2 separate regions of the Homo sapiens genome follow, and region 1 is linked to region 2. Evidence: promoter capture Hi-C in 16 types of primary human blood cells and fetal thymus (Javierre and others, 2016). All regions are on one chromosome and are shown on one strand. The core of a region is centred on a gene start or on the middle of the fragment in contact, and the rest is flanking DNA. Distances in the headings are between cores, read along the strand shown. Region 1 overlaps FRMD4A (FERM domain containing 4A). Region 2 holds the start of FRMD4A-AS3 (FRMD4A antisense RNA 3).

Region 1 (4,314 bases), core at 175-2,674, 220 kb before region 2:
CCTGATGCTCAGCCCTCTCTCACAGCCTCTTGGGGAGACTGGAATTCCCCTTTGTTCTAACCAGGGCAGAAAGAAAGCTTACCGACTTTTCTACAAAGGCCTTGGCTGAAGAAGGAAGATGGATCGTGTCTCCTCCCTCCTTACCAAGGGGGAAACGACTTAGCTGCTTGTGCTCCCCAAGAGTATGTTTTATGGACTATTTCTTATTCCTCTCCATCACTCAATGCGTTTTTTATTACAAATAGATTTACCATTGCGTTATCTGTCTGTGCTCTATATCTTACCATGTCTTTCTTCACCATGTGCTTTTCAAATGTTAAATATTATCAGCCACCCCTGGGGGCTGGGAAGACATCTGTTTTGCTCATTTGGTGGAGTGCCCAGCTTTGCAGAGAGGAGCCTAATAAATGATGATGGGATCGCAGTGAGGTGTGAGGTCAGCCCAAAGTGGGGCTGCCTGAACCCCTTTGGCTCTTGTTTCAGGAGGTGGCCTGGTGGCCTGGGAGGTCCCGGACAGAAGGTTCATAACACTGAGTCCCTCTGTCTGCTCCCAGCTTCTGCACACGCCTTCCCAGCCCTTGGCTGTGACAGAAACTCCTGGTGGATTCAGACCAGACAGGAGCAGATGGCAGACCTGGAGCACGCCTCGGTAGATGGCCCAGCAGGCAGACCACAATGAGCCCACCTGCCCACACTACTCAGTTGGGAAGACACGGAATCAACTCCATATTCTCTGCTTGGCAACATGCACTTTGGGGGGGATTCCTGCTTTACTTGGTAGAAAACAATCTCCTGCATTTTTTTTTTTTTTTTGATACGGAGTTCGCTCTTGTTGCCCAGGCTAGAGTGCAATGGTGCGATCTTGGCTCACTGCAACCTCCATCTCCCACGTTCAAGGGATTCTCCTGCCTCAGCCTCCCGAGTAGCTGGGATACAGGCATGCACCACCATGCCCGGCTAATTTTGTATTTTTAGTAGAGACGGGCTTTCACCATGTTGGTCAGGCTGGTCTCAAAGTCCCGACCTCAGGTGACCCACCCGCCTCGGCCTCCCAAAGTGTTGGGATTACAGGTGTGAGCCACAGCACCTGGCCATCTCTTGCATTTTTGCAGAATATCATTAACCACAGAAGTTGCTAAGGCTGGGCTATGAGGGTGAATATAAACATGGGTGTGCACCTGTGCATAGAGAATCCAAGTTTAGGCCGGGCGCAGTGGCTCATACCTGTAATCCCAGCATTTGGGAGGCCGAGGTGGGTGGATCACCTGAGATCAGGAGTTCGAGACCAGCCTGGCCAACATGGTGAAATCCCGCCTCTACTAAAAATAAAAAAATAAGCTGTGGGTGGTGGCAGGTGCCTGTAATCCCAGCTACTTGGGAGGCTGAGGCAGGAGAAGCACTTGAACCCAGGAGGCTGAGGCAGGAGAATTGCTTGAACCCAGGAGGTGGAGGTTGCAATAAGCCAGTAAGCCGAGATTACACCACTGCACCCCAGCCTGGGTGACAGAGTGAGGCTCCATCTCAAAAAAAAAGAGAACCAAGTTTATTCACCTATTTTAGGTAAGATTATTACAGTTCTAGATTTTTAAAAAGTCATACATTTTTTTTTCTAGCCCATAATAGCCCAGACTATTTACTTGCCCTCAGTGCTATTTTACTGACAGCCCATATTAATGTACTCGACCTTTAAGATGGGATATCACCAGCATCGCTGTCAGACAGAGGAAAGTGACAGGAAGGCGACCATTATTTCATCCACTGCTGTGGAAGTGTCTTCCACACCTGCTAGCCCGAGACTTACGCAGGACGCACAAGTCCTTCATGAGGATGTGTCACATGTTTCAGGCTTTCCCAGATAGGTTAGGAAGTGAGTTCACAGGAATGAAATGACCTGGGTAAGCCCATCTTCCATTGCAGACCTGAGATAAGGTTCGAAGTCTTTGGTTGCCATCGTTTATGGCTCTGGTGTCAGGGGCTGGCAGAGGAGCATATTCCAGGTGAACTATTAATAGATCATATCTTGTGAATCTTGGGTTTTTATTATATATACTGGTTATGGTGCAGTGAAAAGAGAATGGGCTATACTATCAGAGGACCTATGCTCGAGCTACCTATACTTCACTAGCTACGTGACCTTGAGCAAGTTATTTAATCTTTCTGAATTTCTGTTTGCTTGGCACCTACTTTACACAGTTACTGTGAGGATTAAATAAGATATGCTCCATATAAATTCTATAAAGAATTGTAGGCCAGGTGTAGTGGCTCATGCCTGTAATCCCAGCACTTTGGGAGGCCAAGGCGGGTGGATCACCTGAGATCAGGAGTTTCAGAGAAGCCTGGCCAACACAGTGAAATCCCGTCTTTACAAACACACAAAAATTAGCCGGGCATGATGGCGGGTGCCTGTAATCCCAGCAACTCTGGAGGCTGAGGTGGGAAAATCACTTGAACCCGGGAGGCAGAGGTTGCCGTGAGCAGAGATCACGTCACTGCACTCCAGCCTGGGCGACAGAGTGAGACTTCGTCTCAAAACAAAACAAAAAAAGAAAAAGAAAAAGAAAAAGAATTGTAAAATGTAGTCATTATTGTGCCAAACATCCAGTATTATATCTGGGTAACCCCAAACAATTCGATTGCCTTCATAATATTTTCTCTAGCTTAAATTGTTTTCTATCTTCTATAGCAGGAATCCCCAACCCCTGGGCCATGGACTGGTACCAGTCTATGGCCTGTTAGGAATGGGGCTGCACAGCAGGAGATGAGCAGCGAGAGAAGCTTCACCTATACTTATAGCCTCTCCCCATTGCTTGCATTACTGCCTGAGCCCCACCTCCTGTCAGATCAGCAGCAGCATTAGATTCTCGCAGGAGTCCAAACCCTACGGTGAACTATACACGTGAGGGATCTAGTTTGCACACTCCTTATAAGAATCTAGGCCAGGCGTGGTGGCTCACACCTGTAATCCCAGCATTTTGGGAGGCCGAGGCGGGTGGATCATGAGGTCAGGAGATTGAGACTGTCCTGGCCAACATGGTGAAACCCTGTCTCTACTAAAAATACAAAAATTAGTTGGGTGTGGTGGCGCCTGCCTGTAATCCCAGCCACTCAGGAGGCTGAGGCAGGAGAATCGCTTGAACTCAGGAGGCGAAGGTTACAGTGAGCTGAGATTGCACCACTTCACTCCAGCCTGGTGACAAAGCAAGACTCTGTCTCAAAAATTAAAAAAAAAAAAAAGATTCTAATGCCTGATGCCCATCACTCACATGTGGGACCATCTAGTTGCAGGAAAACAAGCTCAGGGCTCCCACTGATTTGACATTATGGTGAGCTGTAGAATTATTTCATTATATGTTACAATGTAGTAATCATGGAAATAAAGTGCACAATAAATGTAATATGCTTGAATCATCCTGAAACCATACCTCCCACACCCCATCTGTGGAAAAATTGTCTTTCATGAAACCAGTCCCTGGTGCCAAAAGGTTTGGGCCTACTGCTCTAGAAATAGCCATCCAAAAGAAATACAACGTGAGCCACAAAAGTTAGCCCAATATAAGATTTTAATTTTTTTTTTTTTGAGATGGAGTCTTGCTCTGTTGCTGGGCTGGAGTGCAGTGGCGTGACCTCGACTCACTGCAACTTCCACCTCCCAGGTTCAAGTGATTCCCTTGCCTCAGCCTCCCGAGTAGCTGGGACTACAGGCGCACGCCACCATGCCTGGTAGAGACAGGGTTTCAGCATGTTGGCCAGGATGGTCTTGATCTCCTGACCTCATGATCTGCCCACCTCAGCCTCCCAAAGTGCTGGGATTACAGGCATGAGCCACCACACCTGGACCAAGATTTTAATTTTTTTAGCCATATTTAAAAAGTTTAAAGGTGAAATTTATTGTATATTTATTTTATCTTAATATATCCAAAATATTATCATTTTAACACGGACTCACCAAGGCAAAAATTATTTACAAGACATTTTACTTAAGTTTCATAGGAAGTCTTCACAAGCTGGTGTGTGATTTATACTTGCTCACAGCTGGCGTGTGATTTATGCTTGCACACAGCTGGCGTGTGATTTATACTTGCATACATCTCCATTTGCACTGGCCACATTTTGCTCAATGGCCACATGTGGCTGGTGGCTACTGTACCACGAGGTGCAGCTTAGATCTTTCCAAATGCTTCTGTCTTGGTTATGAGGAGATTATGTCTCCTCATAATCTCAGGATTATGAGCCCTGGGTAAGACATGGCAATAATCTAACTGTTATCTTTAATTCCCTTAGAAAACACAGACTAGTCACAGTTTGCTCCACTTC
Region 2 (4,262 bases), core at 1,228-3,727:
AGAATTAGACTTGATGAGAACACTGGGTGAGGGTGGACTCTTAGGTGGATCCTTGGATGAAGTAGGAGCCTGCAGCTGAAAGGGTGAAAGAAGGAGGTGGTAGGAAGGGTTTCCTTCCCCGTGTTGCAAGGCTGCTTCTCTTAATTCTGTGACTTTACTACAAAGCACAGAGGACTGTGACCAACATTTAATAAGCCTTCAATAAATGTTGATATTGATACCTAAAATTCCACCTATTAGACATTGATTTATGTTAACAACTTCCTTCTTAAAGTAAAAATTCTCTTGGGAAGGCCCAAGTCAATTGACCATTCATTCTTTATGATGAATGTTTAATAAGACTGCTTTCTTCTGGATATCTAGTTGAGATCAGCTGAACAACGAGAGTTTTATGGCTAAATGGATATGAAGACACGAGGCAATTTAGGGTCACGGAGATGCTCGGCTGAGTTCAGGCACAAATGGGGCCTTGAGAAGTCAGAAGTTCTTACTTCTCTAGATAATATCCTCAAAAAGCCAAGTGAAGATATTAAGAAGAAAAAGCCAAAAATAACAACCGTGGCTATACCATTTTGGGAACAGAGTTGGATTCACATATCCTCCGTCCTTCTACTTTATAAACATTATTTGGAAAATTAAAAGTCGAAAATATTATAAGATTAAAATTCTGTGAGTTGGAGTCAACTTGTCTTCTAAAGCCTAACGCTTTCTGAGCCTCAGTTAAGTTACCACAAGAAGCAAGCCACCAAATTTGCCATCCAGAACTGTGATGCATGCTCTCATTTCCAGCAAGATGTAAAGCAGGGTTTTCATAACTGTTGAAGCTGCATCACAACCATCTCCACAAAGGACCATTTATCAGTTATTTTGGGAAAGGGGAGGGTTTTTTTAGAAGAGAAGAAACCACGCTAATAAGCTTTTTGTCTGCAATCATTTCCCACTGAGATTCCATATCAGTACATCTCCATTTGCTACATATTTAGCTTTAAAGGAAAATGAGGTGAGATGGAGATATTTGAGTCATAAAAGCAATAAAACGTGCTTCCGGAAAATAGCTTTCCTTTCAGTCCCCAGACCTGCACTTCCCAGATATAAAGTTTGTTTCTTTAACAAAAGTCTTGGTCAAGTATAGCCAGGCATACTGATTATCAGAGAAATATATACATATGTTTATAATTCATATGAAAGGAAAGAGAGAAAGAGCCAAAAAGAAGGGATAAAAAAATAATAGCTTTAGAAATAGAGAAAAGAAACAAAAACAAGACATACACTACGAGAACCCCTTGTAACCTGCACCCTTACCAGCTGTCCAGGAAACCCAGGGTACCTCCATCTCTCAGCTCAGAGGTTGGTGACAGGTGGTGTCTTTTATTCATATGCCCTCCCTGGGGCTCTTAATAATTGGTGTATTTCTTGTAGTCCCTTTAGTAGGCTGGGGGCAGTAGTGGGAGTGAGGGCGAGTTGGATGCTGGCTTGTTAATGGAGCTGAAGGGAGGGCTACAAGGTGACAGATGGGATGAAGCTGGAAGCTTCTTTGGTGGGAAGGGAGGGTGTTCTAGGTCATGAAGAATTAGATCCATTGAGTTGCTGCAAGAAATGTCCCATTCCTTGAGTTCCTAGGTGATTGACTTAATCTGCCCATCAGTCTTTGTGTGGTTGGTTTTGTGGTTGTGTGGATAAATCTAGACACCAAGGACCCTGGATATACCCTCCCAAAGCAAAATAACACTGGGGGCTGGGGTCACTTATTACTTGGCTGGTGTCCATGATGGGAAAGATCTCAGGGATGATGGCTGATGTTGTTGGCATTGTCTTTGCTTGTCCAAGGGCTGCTGTAGAAGAAGCGAACGGAGTGAGGGGAAGTCCAGGGGTATGAATGTGTCGTGTTCATGGGTTTTTCACCACCACCGGGATCCTGTTGTGACCTACCCACTGGTCAAGATGAAATCCCTAATAACTTAGGTGTTAAAAGACTGGAGGTTGCCCTGTATAAATTGGGTCACCAAAAGTTCCTTTTAAATTTTGCATAGGGCGGTGGCTCATGTCTGTAATCCCAGCACTTTGGAAGGCTGAGGTGGGAGGATCACTTGAGGGCAGGAGTTCAAGACTAGACTGGGCAACATAGTGAAACTCTGGTTCTACTAAAATACAAAATTTAGCCAGGCATGGTGGTGTGTGCCTGTAATCCCAGCTACTCGGGAGGCTGAGGCAGGAGAATTGCTTGAAACCTGGAGGCAGAGGCTGAACAGAGCTGAGATCGTGCCCCTGCACTCCAGCCTGGATGACAGAGCAAGATAGTCTCAAAAAAAATTTTTTTTGTTTCATATGTAGTACCATAGCACCAAGAAAGTGCTTAGGTGGTAAGTACAAAGGTGGCCAAGGTGAGTTCTGACAGTACAGAATGGGGTTTCCATGGAGACGGCAAATAATGAAGCAGTGGATGGGGGAGGGGGATGTATGCTCCAAGGTTGTGCCCACTCGGCACGACCCAGGTTCCATGCTACAGGCCTCTACTTGTCCAGACCTGAGGGTCAGATTCAGATGGTGCAAATGTTTAAGACCTGGGTCTTCAACGAGATGAATTATCAGCTATTTCATAGCTGCAGTGTTGGATATGCCGAGACGATAAAAGCAACAGCAATCAGAATCAACAGTTGAAACGACATGGCAGACGCTGTGAATGCTATGAACTGCTGTGCTGAGCAGCAGGATTCCTGTGTCCTGGCGCAATGCCCATGGGGATTCATGCTTTCAGAGGGTCACGCCTCAGGAACACGTAGAAGGGCAAGCATTTCATCTGGCAGGGCACTGATTTAATCTGCACGCATGTTTGGCTGTAAAACTAGCTCCTCCCCCTTACCATTTTTGAGTCGCTGCCGGACTCAAATTCCACAGATTCTGGAAGGTGTCCAGGAACTCGTTGATTTGTCAAACTTATGGCTACACACAGCTGGAATGGAGACGGACTCCACTGAGGAGACTCATACAGGACAGGAGGGAATTTTAAGAGGATAACCCTGGTAAGCCATGGTGGATTGGGTGATGGGAGGCTGTGTAAGAAAAGCTCTCTGACCTTGACTTCCAGGAATTTACTCTTAGATGGTTTAATCTAGATACTACCAGAGCTTGTAATACAGAAAATCCTGCAGGTAGGGAGAAGAGATTACCCAGAATTAGTTGACAGTCTATGTTTCATAGAGTAGAATCAAAGAAAGATGTCCTTATGAATTAAAAAAGCAAGCAAACTATGGTAACTTGAACCAGTTTCCAGTGCTAACGTAGCACTGCCAAGAAAAGACACTGTAAGGTCACCACTGGTCACTAGATACAGCTTGTTTTAAGTTACAATCACATTTACATAAAAACAATAAATGGTCTACATCACCTTGAAAAATGGTTTTTCCTTCCAGTTGTAAGCACTTTATGTCCTGGTGAAATGCTGCTCATCTGATTATTTTACTATATTGAGAAGAGGAAAGGGGAGGACATATTATTTTCTTAACACCTAATGGATCCAGACACATGTTAAATGCTTGACCTCCACAACCATGTTTAACTGTTAGAACAACATGATGTGTGTGTGGTTTATTATTTCTATTTTCCAAATCAGGAGACCAAGGTCTATAGAGATTACGTAGCCTTCCTGGGCACTAGGAACAGGGACAGAACTGGAACCTGTGCCTATCTCTTTCTGTCGTTGCTCCTTCCAACATATCATGTTGCTTCTCAAAACCAACAGTGAAAAAGTATTCTTTAGCCTAACCTGAGCTGAAATGGCTTAGATATGAAAGCGTAAAGTTTCACTGGCTGTGCATGATGCAAATTTCTTAAATATAGGCAAATATAAGCATGTGTGGGTATAATTTCTGTATTATGTGTATACCTTTATATCCATATGCTGTATAGTATGTGTGTATACATATAGTGTGTGTGTATATTTTATATTTATACACACACATATGTATATGCACACACACACACATATATATAAACCATTAATCTAGGAATCAACAAACCACATCTGATGATATTTCTGCATTGTCATAAAGCCGGAGAGAGAAGCTTCCCCCAGTTACAGGAAGAGATTGTGTGATTGTGTCTGTGCTTGCTTTTTCCTAATGTCTGCATGTTGGACAGAACTTGGCCTAACTCTCATGTTCATGGTAATGTAGCATCTATTTTGAACCACAGGAGGATGGAACATTGACCAGAAGAACCTGACCTTAGTTGATGGCAACTCTGTTTTATTTCCGCTGCTCACC

What was found. Contacts are between HindIII fragments. The CHiCAGO score rates a contact against its expected background, and 5 or more counts as called.
Region 1: a fragment that was not itself captured here is called in contact with the fragment with the promoter of FRMD4A-AS3 in region 2 in 2 of 17 cell types (endothelial precursors and activated CD4 T cells); the score reaches 5.1 in endothelial precursors.

Annotation. Positions count from the first base shown.
Region 1 is chr10:13,848,686-13,852,999 of GRCh38, forward strand. The region is part of intron 3 of FRMD4A (FERM domain containing 4A); the gene reads right to left. Among named protein-coding and RNA genes, the nearest start is that of FRMD4A-AS2, 140 kb to the right of the region's middle. The HindIII fragment of the contact is 2,698 bases long and covers 76-2,773 here.
Region 2 is chr10:14,071,807-14,076,068 of GRCh38, forward strand. FRMD4A-AS3 (FRMD4A antisense RNA 3) reads left to right here and starts at 2,478. Exons shown (of 3, transcript NR_120638.1): 1 at 2,478-3,020. The region is part of intron 2 of FRMD4A (FERM domain containing 4A); the gene reads right to left. The HindIII fragment of the contact is 2,533 bases long and covers 1,528-4,060 here.